2 separate regions of the Homo sapiens genome follow, and region 2 is linked to region 1. Evidence: promoter capture Hi-C in 16 types of primary human blood cells and fetal thymus (Javierre and others, 2016). All regions are on one chromosome and are shown on one strand. The core of a region is centred on a gene start or on the middle of the fragment in contact, and the rest is flanking DNA. Distances in the headings are between cores, read along the strand shown. Region 1 holds the start of SOX21 (SRY-box transcription factor 21). Region 2 holds the start of LINC00557 (long intergenic non-protein coding RNA 557).

Region 1 (6,889 bases), core at 3,240-5,739:
AGCGCTGCATTTGTGGGCCACTTTCAGACGCTTACACCACCCACCCCCGGGCCTTTCTCTACGCCCTCTTGCCCCGGAGCCGCTCCCCCCGCTCCAACCCCTTACTTCTGCACAGTCTAACTTGGCAGGAGGCTCTCTGCAGGCGCAAAACCCGCCAACTTGTTAGCAAGACCATTGGAGTCAGAATGGGTGATAAACGAGTCTGTGGGGCCTGTGGAGGTCCTCAAACAGCCGCACAATCTGTTGGCGATATGACCTCGGTGCTCCCCCTCGGCATCCTCACCCCTCCTCTTACCCATCTTTCCAGTCCTCTTCTCATTCATCAACAACTCCGGAGCGTTTCTCCCAGAAAACGCTGATCTTTGGGAAAAGGGGAGGGGGCGGGAGGAGGCGGGGAGTCTTCAGGCCGAGGAGGCGGCCGAGCTGGAAGGCTCAGGGTGGTAACTAAGATTTAGGGCTGGGGTGATTTCCAGCGAGCCGCAGGAAGTTCCGTGTTGAGAAGGGATGGGCTGCTACAAAAGGGAAAGACGAAGCCTTGAAAGGATTTAATTAACCGTGTCAGGGATAATTACCCCTGGACAGTCCAAATTAGTTTTGCATAATCGCTCAGAACCATATGAATTAACTTATAATATTGCAAAGAGCTCAGGGAATAACAGGAGAGGGATCATTTTAATTAGTGAATCAGGGTCAAACCAGCAGAGCCTATTTCTCACATTTCCAAAACTTTTCATGGTTTTTAAAATATTATTCCGTTGGGGGAAAACAATGACTTTAAAGACTTGGGTCGTTTATAAAGACGTGCAGCTCCAGAGATGGTCTCAATGGGGAAACTGGTTTAAGACTTGTATATAGTATCTTGAGAATTTCCATTTTGGTTGCGGGGGGGCGAGATCTTCCTATTTTTTTTTTTCTGACAGTCTTCTATTTCTTGTCTAAAATTAAAATCCTTTATGATTTTTCAAACTTTAGTAGCAATTTGTCTAGCCCTAGAAATCCAACCCTCTCCATTTGAATGTTATACTTCTACTTTAATGCGATTAGCATAACAAAATTAAGTCCTAAAGAGGCCAAAATTTGTACTTTGTCGTTAGTAGTGATTATCCTTCCAAATAAAACCTTAAGGTGTCAACAAGGAATACCCCAAAGATAGGAGAACAAATTACACTGATTTAAGTGGTGGGGCTCTTCAACTAACAAGATAAAGTGGTCAAGCAACTTTCCCCTCTTAAAATGTTACTAGAAACTGGTGAAATGCTTTGAAAGGTCTGGATGTTTTCAATGGGCTCTGTTCTACTGGTTCATGAATGCCTTTTTTTTGTTGTTGTTAAAGCTAATACAACGACTTGGGCTTTTTAAAAATCTTCTTTCCTATTCACGATTAAAAATGTGATAAATCAGGTTTTTGGCTCTGAATAACAATGGCTTGATTTAGATTTCCTAGTAAATCTATTCAAAAGTGAAACAAAGGGTGCCTTTGGAGGATACCTTACACTTCACCTGGACCAGGCACGTAAGGGCAATTCAGATAAAAATCTTGTTAGGAACTCAACAAGAAATAGAAGATTTTTCTTTTCCCTGGTTCAGGCTTTATTTAAACTCTTTGTTCAAAAAAAATGAACAGAGTGATAGTCGGATTCTAATTTACAGATATACCTTAGACGTCTAATATTAAATTAGAAGGTCACACTAGAAAATCATTTACACATAAAGGTTAAAACCATATTTAAAATTTTAAAAACTTTATATTACATAAAGCCAAAATGAAACTAAATACATGTTAGCCAACTTCATTCACAAACATTAGTCAAAATATATACATTTAAAAAGAAACAAAGCTAATAATTGAAGGTTCCTTTTTTCTAAAATGTGTTTTATTGCAATTTGCAAATGAATTGCAGGTGATCTAAAAAATAAGCCAATTGAGGAGGGAAATCCAAAACACATTAAACCAGCTCAACTTGGGAGAGAAATGCTAGCTGAAAATGAGAGACATCTGTTGAAACAATTCTGTGCTTTTTTTCTTCAGTTTTGCTAAATAATAAATATATAATTACCAGACAAAAAAGTCTGATTTAATCTTCGATAAAATTGCGATTCTGAAATAGTTTCGCAATTTTTAAAAGTTAACTTTGATATTCGCTCAAAATGTTTTTGAGTCTAAAGTCGACTCAAACTTAGGGCAACGAAAATAACACATTTTCCAAGCCTCAATGTTTTCACTGACATATACACATTTACAATCTTAAGGTGAACTCAGCCATAAGGGAAAATAGGAGCAGTGCCTTTTTCCTTTTTTGTAAACTGTGTCAGAAATCCAAGCGAGTGGACTCAGGGAGACTTCTAGTAGTTTGTTGTTGTTGTTTGTTTAGGAAGAAAATCCAATTGACAACTTTCATCTCACAAATATTTCTTGTTTGCGTTTCTTGCCCTTGAGAAAGAGCTCTTGCTCTGATTTGCAAATGGCGTGATAAACAAAAGAAACCGTGATCATCTCACACAAAAGGCCAGATTCGAGCCGGTCACTGGTCAAGAATGGATCTGGTTGGGAGTTCTGCTTGAGAGAACAGAGATCTGCAAAGTTCAAATAGTACAAACAGGGAGGCGAGGCTGCTCAGAGCCATCCCACTCCCAGAAACGAATGACACAAGCAGCTTTTCCCGTGTGCCAGCCATTTCAGACCTCACATTTGAACAGCGTGCATGCAACACGGACCGGGAGGGGGTTGGGGGTTGGGGGGCTGAGGGGCGAGGAAGAAGAATGAGAAACAAAAACAAAACCGACCATGAAACTTCCAACAAAACTGGAAAGGCCAACATGTCAAAAAGTTACTCCTCCACCTCCGTGGGTCAAAACGCAACAGGTTCCGAAGTGCAAAGCAAACGCCAACTGCTGCCGCACACAACCGCCTGCTTTCGAGTTGGCTGCCGAAGTGCGGGTCTGAAATGATCCTGCGAATTCACAGGCCTGCTCGCCCGCGCCCTTGCGCGCTTGGCCACTCCTGCCCCGCCTGGCCTCTCTGCCTCTACCTGGCACCTATACATTCTATGTACATACAAACCGGGCCCCCGGTCGCGGGAGGGCGCACGGGGAGGCCGCAGCGCTCGTACCTATACATATGTACACGTGTGCACACCGGTCCTCGCGAGGCGGCCCCGCGGGGTCATAGCGCGGCAGCGTAGGCCGCGGGGTAGGGGTCCAGCTGGGGCTTGCCCATGCCCGGCAGCAGGATGTAGGCGAGCGGCGGCTGCAGCCCGGGGCTGGGCCACGCGCTGCAGTTGCACGGGATCATGTAGCCCGGGTTGCCCGGGCTGGGGTGCGAGTGCGTGTGCCCCCCGGCGGCGGCGGCCGCCGCTGCAGCCGCCGCCGCCGCGCCGTGGAAGGCGCCCGCGCCCGCGGTCGGGTAGCCCAGCGACGACGCGTACGGGAGGCCGGACGAGGACGACGAGATCTCTGCCATTTTGGAGCCCAGGTCGAGCAGCGAGTAGGGGCTGCCCGCGGCGGCGGCGGCGGCGGCAGCGGCGGCGGCAGCGGCCGACTGCGGGAAGAAGACGCGTGCGGCGGCAGCGGCGGCGGCCGCGGCCGCCTTCTCGGGATTGGCGAGCAGCGACTCAGGCACCAGGCCGCCGCCCGCCCCCGCGTGCAGCCCGGCGCCCGCCTTGAGCGCAGGGTGCTCGGCGTCCGCCACGCCGCCCAGGCCGTAGGGCACCGGGAAGGCGAACTTGTCCTTCTTGAGCAGCGTCTTGGGCTTGCGCCGCGGCCGGTACTTGTAGTCGGGGTGCTCCTTCATGTGCATGGCGCGTAGACGCTTGGCCTCGTCGATGAACGGCCGCTTCTCCGACTCTGTGAGCAGTTTCCACTCGGCGCCCAAGCGCTTGCTGATCTCCGAGTTGTGCATCTTGGGGTTCTCCTGGGCCATCTTGCGCCGCTGAGCCCGCGACCACACCATGAAGGCGTTCATGGGCCGCTTGACGTGGTCCACCGGCTTGGACATGCTCTCGCCCTGCCGCGGCTGCAGCCCGCCGCCTCCCGGGCCCTCGCCCTCGGCCCGGAGGAAATCAATGTTGGCTGCCCGCGGAGACCCGCTCGGCCGGCCGGGGCTCGTCGCGCCCCGGCGTCGCTCCCGCCCCGGAGGAGGGGGCTGGGGGACCAGCCCAGGGCCACGCCGCGCCCCGGGCCGCCTTAGTGTCTCCGGCCGAGCGCTCGAGCAGGTTGTCTCTGGGACACTCTAACTTCTCGGCGGTGCCCCCTCCCCGCGGCGGCAGTTTGCCCTTTACGTTCTTTGGGTCCTTCGTCTGCAGTGGCGTTTGCTGGTGAGCTCCCCGCAGGTAGCGGCGGCCGGGCAGAGCGCTCCTCCTCCTCGGTCGTTCTCTCTTAAATGCAAAGCGTCCCCAAAAGTTGCGTCGCGGAGACTCCTCGAAGTTGAGCCGAGGAGCCCGCCGCCGCGTGCTGCCAAGTGCCAAAGGGGGCTCTCAGCGGCTGGAGTGTTTGGGTTCTCCTCGGTGACTTTCTCATTTGACAGAAGCAGATGGGGGTGGGGAAGGCGGGGAGGTGGCCCTGGAGGAGGAAGAGGAGGGGGAGGCGGAGGAGTGTCCAGGCGTGCCACGAGAACGCAGAGCGCAGCAATGGATATAAATACAAATACAGCAGCACCAGCCTGTCTTCTTGGCTCCGGGCAGGGTGCGCCGATGGGAAACCCCCAATCGGCTGGGTGATTTTTTTTTTTTGGAGGGGGGAGCTGTCCCCCGCAGCACCTGCCTCTCGAGTCTTCCTCTCCCGCTGCTGGACTGACGGGTGGGGCGAGGAAGGAGGGTGGATGAGGCTTGAGCAAGCGTTGGTCGCCCGGCCTCAGAGGAAGTTCTCCCGGCTCGCCGAGGAGCCGCGTCCGGCCGTCCCCTGGGCCATGCCGGCTCTGTTCGCTCCGAGCCCCTTCAGGCGCGCCTGCCGACTTAGGGCTCCCGGAGCTCGCCGGCCGCGGAGGGCAGCGCAGCCTCCACGCGGCGCCGCAGGCCTGGCACCGGCCGCGTCCCCGCCTCGCTCTTCTCGGCAGCCGCCTGGCACTTGCAACTAACTTCGCCCAAGTTTCCTGCGCCGCGGCGCCCCTCTCGGCGCGCTCCTGGGAGCGTGCGCCCGCGAGTCCGCCGCGCCCGGGGCCCCTCTGTCCTCGCTGCTGTGGCCAGAGCCGAGCCGGCGCAGGGGCGGAGGTGCTGCAGGAGAGTTAAGGAAAACGGGCCATCACCTCAGTTCGCAGGTCCGCGCTGTGGCACCTCCCGCTCTCCCCACTCCCGCGGCGCAGGGGGCCCCTTCCCAGCCCAGGCCGCCCTCTGCACCGGCTCAGGTGAGTGTGGCTACCTGCATGTGTGCGCGCCCGGAGCCGGCACTGGGTGTGCATGTCCAGCCGCGGCTGTGTGTGTATATCTGGGGGCCTGCGGAGGAGGTGGAGCCCAGGACTCGGGGAGGGAGGAGGGATCAGCGGAGCCGCCTCCCGCTCCCACACCCCCAGGACCTCGAATTAACAGATCCCCTCCGCCCCCCGCCCCCTCCCAATCCTCCTCCTCCCACTCCTTTTCACTTGAGAGCAGGTTTAGGCGAGTGGAGAGTCCGGAGCGCGCCGGGGAGTCTGCGCCCTGTTTGGCGTTGGCAAACCCTGGTGTCATCCCGGCTACCCAGGCCGGCCTGGCGTGCAGCTGCCCTGGTTGTGGCCCTGGAATCCTCGCCGGGAGGAAGAAGGCGGCGGGCACGAGTAGGAGAGCCTCTCCAGCTACGGAGGAAGAGGGTTAAACCTGGAGAAGGGGAGACTCACCCTTGAAAATGTTTGAGACTGTTCCTAGCAAGAAAGTGCTCATTTTCCTTGGAGGTCCAGGTGTTGCTTGCAACAGAAACAGAGGCTTCTCGCATTTTCTTGCACTGGCGATGCACCTAGTCAGAGGTAGTGGAGTGAAAAATAACTCTGGAGGGAATAAGGACATTCTTGGCAACCTTTCCAAAAAAGAGCTAGCCCAGACTGAGAGTATGCATCCTTGACTGACTATTCAGCTCTTTAAAAATTCTGTGTTGTTTGTCTTTTGTTGTAATCTTGGTCGCCAGAACCATCTATATACTGATCTCTTTAAGGTACAGTTAACTTACAGTGTCTCACTTACATGCGCTGCTGAGGTGAAGGTGTTTAAAATCAATAAGTGTAAGTAGTTTCCCTGGAAGAGAGAAGTAAAACGTACCAATCACTCAGTGCTGGAATATTTTTATGCTAAGCATAATTTCCTTCTTTAGTAGTTAGAGCAGTTTTTTAAAAAAAATAGTTAACACGATGCAGAAGTCAAACAGCATGATTCTGTTTCCGTATTTTCCTCACTTTTTGGTATGCTGCGGCACATTTAGAACATGATCTGTCTGGAGGTTTTATTCACATGGTGGCCTGCCCTTCAGGGAGAACTTGCTTGCCTTCTTTCTTTGGCAGTTTGGATTTGACCTAGCCCTGTGGTATGTGCAAGTAGGAACATCTACAAACGGTTAACTCTTTAAGTCTTCCTACGATTTATGTTCAGTTCATTCACACACACACACACACACACACACACACACACACAAAAGCTTTGATTGTAATTATGAACGTGAATTAAAACTGTTTCAGGCCATCAGATTTATGTAAAAGTTAGGCTTGTTTTGTTCATTTTAATAAAAGAATAGTGACTTAAAAATTACAGTCGTGATAACAAAACTGTGAACAGCAGTGGCATCTATGTGGGTTTTTGTTTTTCTGAAGATGTCGTATTGACAAGCTTATTTTGTATCGGTTATGCCCTTGCATTGTTAAAATAATTGGACTGATTTCTCCAGAACCATATTCCTTTACAGGCTCTGTAAAGACACTCTTGTCATTCACAGACTC
Region 2 (6,889 bases), core at 2,789-5,288, 240 kb after region 1:
TGCTATCAAACTACCAACATCATTTTTTCACAAAATTAGAAGAAAACTATTCTAAAATTCATGTGAAACCAAAAAAAGAAAAAAGAGCCTGAATAGCCAAAGCAGTCCTCACCAAAGTAATAAACCTGGAGAAATCACATTACCCAACTTCAAACTGTATTACAAGGCTACAGTAACCAAAACAGCATGGTACTGGCACAAAAACAGACACATAAACCAATGGAACAGAATAGACAACCCAGAAATAAAGTTTCACTCCCACAGCCATCTAATCTTTCACAAAGTTGACAAAAATAAGCAGTGGGGAAAGCCCTCCCTATTCAATAAGTGGTACTGGGATAACTGCCTAGCCATATGCAGAAGAATGAAATTGGAACCCTGCTTTTCACCATAAACATAAATTAACTCAAGATGGAATTAAAGATTTAAATGTAAGACCTCAAACTATAAAAATCCTAGAAAAAAAGCCTAAGAAATATCATCCTGGACATCAACCCTGGGAAAGAATTTATGACTCAGTCTTCAAAAAGATGCAACAAAAATAAAAATTGACAAGTGGGACCTAATTGGATTAAAGAGCTTCTGCACAGCAAAATAAACTATCAATAAAGTAAGCAGACAACCTACAGAATGGGAAAAAATATTTGGAAACTATGCATCCAACAAAGTTCTAATATCTAGAATCTATAAGGAACTTAAATCAACAAGCAAAAAACAAATAACCCTATTAAAAAGTGAGCAAAAGGCAGGAACAGATACTTTTCAAAAGAAGACATAACAAACATCCAACAAACATGAAAAAATGCTCATCACTAATCATCAGAGAAATGCAAATCAAAAAACCACAGTAACATACCACCTCATACCAGTCAGAATGGCTATTATTAAAAAGTCAAAAACCAACAGATGCTGGAGACTGCAGAGAAATGGGAACATTTATACACTGTTGGTAGGAAGGTAAATTATTTCAGCTACTGTGGAAAGCCGTTTGGACACTTCTCAAAAAATTAAAAATACAACTACCATTTGACCCAGCAATCCCATTACTGGGTATATACCCAGAGGAAAATAAATTGTTCTACCAAAAAGACATGTGCACTCATATGTTCACCACAGCATTATTCACAGTAGCAAAGACATGGAATCCACCTAGGTGCCCATCAACAGCAGACTGGCTAAAGAAAATATGGGGCTTACACATCATGGAATACTACACAGCCATAAAAAAGAATTAAATCATGTCCTTTGCAGCAACATGGATGCATCTGGAAGCTATTATCCTAAGCGAATTAACACAGGAACAGAAAGTAAGGTATACATGTTCTCACTTACAAGTGGGAGCTAAACCTTGCATACTCACAGACATAAAGGTGGCAACAATAGACATTGAAGACTACTAGAGGGAGGAGCAGGGTTGGGGGTAGTGTTGAAAAACTACGTATTGGGTACTATGCTCACTACCTGAATGATGGGAACATTTGTACTCTAAGCCTTGGCATCACATGATATACCCACATAACAAACCCGCATATGTACCCCCATATCTAAAATAAAAGTTGAAATTATTTAAAAATAAATAATAAATAAATAAATGCATGATAGATTTCAGCAGTGGGGAAAAAATAACAAGTTTTGGCAAAGATAAAGAGAAACTGGGATGCTTATACATTGTTTGCGGGAATGCAAAATAGAACAGCCATTTTGGAAAACAGTTTGATAGTTTCATTTAAGAAGTTATACATAAATTTATCATCTGGCCCAGCAATTGCACTCCTAGTTATCTACCAAAGAGAAATGAAAGCCTATCCACACAAAGAATTGTACGTAAATGTTCTTAGCAGGTAGTGCATAATAATCAAAATGGAAACAAACTGATGATGAATGGATAAACAAAATGTGACATATTCATAAAATGGAATATTATTCAACAATTAAAAGAAGTACTGATACATGCTACAATATTAATGAATCTCAAGAACATTATGCTAAGTGAAAGAAGCAAGATAAAAAAGACTACGTGCACATTTTAGGACTACTTTTATATGAAATGCCCCAAAAAGAAAAATCCACAGAGACAAAATGCAGGTTAGCAGTTGCATGGGGTTTGGGGAATGGGAGAAGGAGTTGACTGCAAACAGACCCAAGGGACCTTTTTGGAGTAATATAAATGTGTTCTACAACTGGATTATGGTGACATTTGCACAACTCTGAAAATTTACCAAAAATCACTCATTGTACACTTAGAATGGGTTAATTGTATGATATGTAAGTTATACCTGCTTCTAAAAATGACTATTGCAATAATATTTCATCTTCTCTATTTTGCTCACAATTTGCTTCACTGTTCATGGAATCACTCACTATCTAAAATAAGATATCCCCAGAAATTGGACACAATTTTATGCTTTGAGAGTGAAGACAGAAGAATCTGCTTGTGATGGGCTTGTCCAAGGAGCATGAGAGACAGTCAAATGTAAGGACATAACTCAGAGGCATGAATGTATCTACATCTGAAGCTACAGCCTTATCATTTGGGAGTTTGTACATCAGTCTTTCATAAATCCTACTTCACTTGGCCAGCTTGGGGCCTCCTAGCAATATTCATTGGTTTACCAAGAATATTTTTATAGGCTGCACAAAGGTAAACTTTGGCTCAGTTCTTGCCTACATCATTATAATTTCTCAATTATTGGGATAAAACTAATAAAGCTCAATTAAACCTTAAATACATCATTATACTCTGAATTTTAAAAATTGTCAAAGTTACAGCTAATGACAATAGAATTTACTGTTACTTTCTATATTTTGTTCTAATTATGAAAGCCCATTAAAACTCTAAATAAAGAAATAATTTGAAACTCATAAGCTTTGAAATCAACTCAATGAACTTACATAATTACATTCACATGACATAAAGGATTATTCGAAATACAATTGAAGAGCAAACATATGCACAGATTTAGACAATATTCATGATTTATAGCAAATTATAAAATCTTCCAGGCAACATTTTAAGGAATCCATGTTTTAAATCATTACTTGACTTGTTCTTGGCATATAAATAATTATGGAGTGCAGAGTCTTCATTGAGTTTATCCTCATCACTGGCTTGCTTTAGACATACAGGTTTCCATTTTGTAAGCCAAATTACCCCAACTTTGGTTACAAACCATCAGAGCATCATGCAGCAAACACTAACTGTCCAGTTGGTAAAACTGATGCTTTCATCTTTGAGTCTATGTACCAGCCAGAGGCAAAACTCTCTGGACATGGCCTGAAAAAGAGGATGTTTGCTTTGTCCCTGCCTCTGCTGAGGAAGGACTCTGTGAGCTGCATAGCAGAGGCAGAAGAGCAGGGTGCCCACTTCTATGGGGAGTTGATCACAACAGCGGCCTCCAGATGGGCAGAGCTGGCAGCTTTCTTGTGGCCTGTGTGAACTGTGTGATCTCATGCCTCTTTGAGCCCAAGGACAGCACTGAGGGGCTTTATTTGCACTGCACCTGCCCCGTAAGCAACAGCATTGATTTCTGCTCCCAGAAACCCTCAGTAAGTAGAACTATTCACTGACGATGCTGCCTGTTTACATCACCCGGGAAGAAGGGTCTGAGCATTTTCTGCCTCTCATGCCTATAAGTGATGGAACTTTCATCTTATCTTTATTCTCTGGTTCATTTATTTTTATAAGATACTGCACAGACAAGAAACCCACACCCAGCCTCTGGCTCTGGATCTGTGAGGAATCATACAACATATTTCTTTTGTTTTAATATAAGATAATGCATGATTAGCCTGCCCCTGCCCACTGACTCAGAGTAAATTTCTCGTAAACAAAAGAAGCAAGTCAAAGAAGCATTAAAATGACACTTTATACTCTATTGGAAGTTTCCCTTCTTTTCTTTGGTGGTTGGAGTGGGGACAGGGGAAATAGCTTTAGCTAATTAACCAAGAGTGAATCAGCTTACTCCTGACTTTTAAGTTCAGACCTTCTCAGATGGATAATTTTTTATTCCCTCTGCAAAGATTCTTTATGGGAGAACCTTCTGAAACTCACTTAATCCAAAATGTGGTGACTGAAGCTCCCTACTGTCTCTTCTGCCCAGTTGAAGTTGGATTTCTTGTGGTTCTGGACTAGCGGAACCTCTCTTCAACCTCCACCTCCTACATGGCCTTTGCGCATTTGAACACAGTCAATACACCTCTTTGTGGCAAAGGGATTCCACGTTACTGGGCTTCTGAATAATTGTTATCTGATTATTATAAAATCACAGAACTTAAGAATGAAAAGGAACCTGAGATTATCTGCTCCAACTTCTTCCCTGTGCAAGAATCTGGCTACAATTCCCCAGCAGCTCCGAACCCTACTTAGTTAGGGGATTGACTGCATCGGGGGATAAGACGGGTTGCACTAGGGTAGTCTATATTTTAAATAAATCTATAAATTAAAATGCTCTTCCTTGAGCAAAGCAGTTTGCCTCCCAGTACCTTCCACTGGGTCCCAAATAGTCTTTCTAGAAAGATACAAAACAAACTGGAGCTTTTTTTTTTTTTTCAAGACAGAGTTTCACTCTTGTTGCCCAGGCTGGAGTGCAATGGCACGGTCTCGGCTCACTACAACCACCGCCTCCCAGGTTCAAACAATTTTCCTGCTTTAGCCTCCCAAGTAGCTGGGACTACAGGCCCGCACCACCATGCCCAGCTAATTTTTGTATTTTTAATAGAGATAGGATTTCACCATGTTGGCCAGGATGGTCTCAAACTCCTGACCTCAGGTGATCCACCCGCCTCAGCCTCCCAAAGTGCTGGGATTACAGGCGTGAGCCACTGCACCCAGCCTGGAGCCACTTTCTTATAGAAAACCTTCAAATACTTGACACTTCTAGATACTCTGATTTACATACACTTAACACACTTGGCTTTTAGATCAGAAGACTGAATTATGCTTTAGTCTTTTAATGTTATGGTGTTTATTTTCACACTAACATTGCAATAAAACTACACAAATACCAAATATAACAGTTACACATGAATGATAAAGAATAAATACTTTAAATAAAGTTAAAAAAAAGAAGCACCTTCACTTGCAAAGTAGAAACTTCACAATAGTTTATATCAGTTGTCTAAATGGGATATGTCCAAAATCAACCTTTGTGGTGGAGGAAGAAAAGTATAACTTCTACTGATAGTTTTAAATCTAAAATGTAAGAAAGAAACTAAGCTTTATTAATATTTATGATATGAAGTAGTACATGTGTATACTTTATGAAAAATAAACATGCCTAGGCTAGGGCGTATGTTCAGGTTTCCTTAATTATAGGTATACACTATCAAAAAATGTCTGGAGCCCTCTGGTTTAAACTATTTTGATTAACTATTAACTCACTCATCTAAGTTGCAAATTTCTAAAAGTAAAGTAAAACATTAGTATCCTTAAACAGAGAGATATTTCATAAAGTAGTCTGAGATTATGCCAGCAAAAAAATAAAGAATGTATTTCAATGTGTTTTAAATTGCATTAACTGTTTTAATGACTCAAATAGATGTTGTTTGTCTAAATCTCCCAAAAATAAGACAAATGGAAACAAAGTTTACTTAATCTGATAAAACAGAAATAAAAAGTGTATTCTAATACCAATTTAATCTAATTAGAAATCATTGATTTAATTTTTCTCTTTTAGTGCTGTCATTGCTATTATAACAGTTGTCTGAGTCAAGATAACATTTTTTCCCCAGTGATTGCTGTCAATGATTATTCAGGGATCACTTTTATCCTTTCTGGAGCAATGGTGCATAAAGCATATATAGGATGCTTTAATCTAGGTACATAGCTCAGTAAATCGGGATATTATAAACCTATGCTATGAGGTTTTTATCTGTGATCTTGAATAAAGTGCTAATGTTTTATATCTTTCTCCATCTTTAAAATGGGGGTAGTGGCCTGAAGGTACAAAGAAGCATCTGGTTTAAAAGAAGAAAGCAATGAAAAACAACAACTTAGGAAATAAGAGAATGAACTTAAGAAGTCTGAGATAGAGACCCTATGGAGATACTAGTCAGGCACAGTTATTTGAAAAACATGTATACTCTGAATTCGCCAAAGATATTTATACACCGCAGCGGCAGTAATATTGTAGCAAATCATCCTCAAAATGGGGCAGTTCACTTTAATAGGAAGGAAAAAGAAACACATCAGAATCACATCACTTAACTATTCAGTGAATTTGCAGCACCTCTAACTTAAAGAATATCACACACATTCACTCGCACATACACAGATTACACAAAAACCAAAGAACTGAATCCGTTTTGTTTTGTTTTTTTCTGATTTTTAAAAGACAGATTGGTACTACTGGAACTGAGGAGTAAGAGGTAATAATTGCCCATCCTTGATATGCATTTTAATGAATGTTCAGCAGCTTTGTGTGTGTGTTTGAATCCATGTATTATTTCTCTCTATTTTCCTTTGATGTCTTTCACAGTTGTGATGTATACAGAGTGGCAGAAACAGCAGACAATGCAGTATTCGGAAGATGTTAACCTGCTCAAGAGTTTAGTGAGCTTTGCCGTCCTCCTTTTCCCCATTACCCCTCAAGTCTGAGTAACAAACATTACCCAGCGCCAGTGTGACTGCTGCCCGGAAATTCTCTGATGAGGCTGCCTGATTTGAATCCTAACTAGCAAAACCAAAGGACTCTAGCTCAGACTCCAAGGGAAGATGAATAACATAAATGGCCTTCTCTGCTGGAAAAAAAAATCTAATTATATGTTTATAGATTTTTTTAAAGGTTGGCATTGAATACTCAGAAATATATTAAGATCATATTTACCCTCAATAGGAACACTGAAAAGGAAATGATATTCTGAAACAAAAGGCCAACTCTAAACCTTGGGA

Evidence for each region. The method cuts DNA at HindIII sites, captures the fragments that hold promoters and counts their contacts. A CHiCAGO score of 5 or more calls a contact.
Region 2: a contact is called between a fragment that was not itself captured here and the fragment with the promoter of SOX21 in region 1, in 2 of 17 cell types (megakaryocytes and endothelial precursors). The highest score is 6.6, in megakaryocytes.

Annotation. Positions count from the first base shown.
Region 1 is chr13:94,708,056-94,714,944 of GRCh38, forward strand. SOX21 (SRY-box transcription factor 21) reads right to left here and starts at 4,490. Exons shown (of 1, transcript NM_007084.4): 1 at 1,567-4,490. The coding sequence starts at 3,994. The coding sequence ends at 3,164. SOX21-AS1 (SOX21 antisense RNA 1) reads left to right here and starts at 4,661. Exons shown (of 2, transcript NR_046514.1): 1 at 4,661-5,338; 2 at 5,583-6,889. LOC112268114 (a long non-coding RNA gene) reads right to left here and starts at 5,388. Exons shown (of 2, transcript NR_158368.1): 1 at 5,353-5,388; 2 at 4,665-5,207. It overlaps LINC00391 (long intergenic non-protein coding RNA 391), which reads right to left and starts at 446. Exons shown (of 3, transcript NR_170286.1): 1 at 296-446. RefSeq lists an enhancer at 5,214-5,715. The HindIII fragment of the contact is 9,809 bases long and covers 1-6,589 here.
Region 2 is chr13:94,953,198-94,960,086 of GRCh38, forward strand. LINC00557 (long intergenic non-protein coding RNA 557) reads left to right here and starts at 6,844. Exons shown (of 1, transcript NR_047487.1): 1 at 6,844-6,889. The HindIII fragment of the contact is 2,349 bases long and covers 2,865-5,213 here.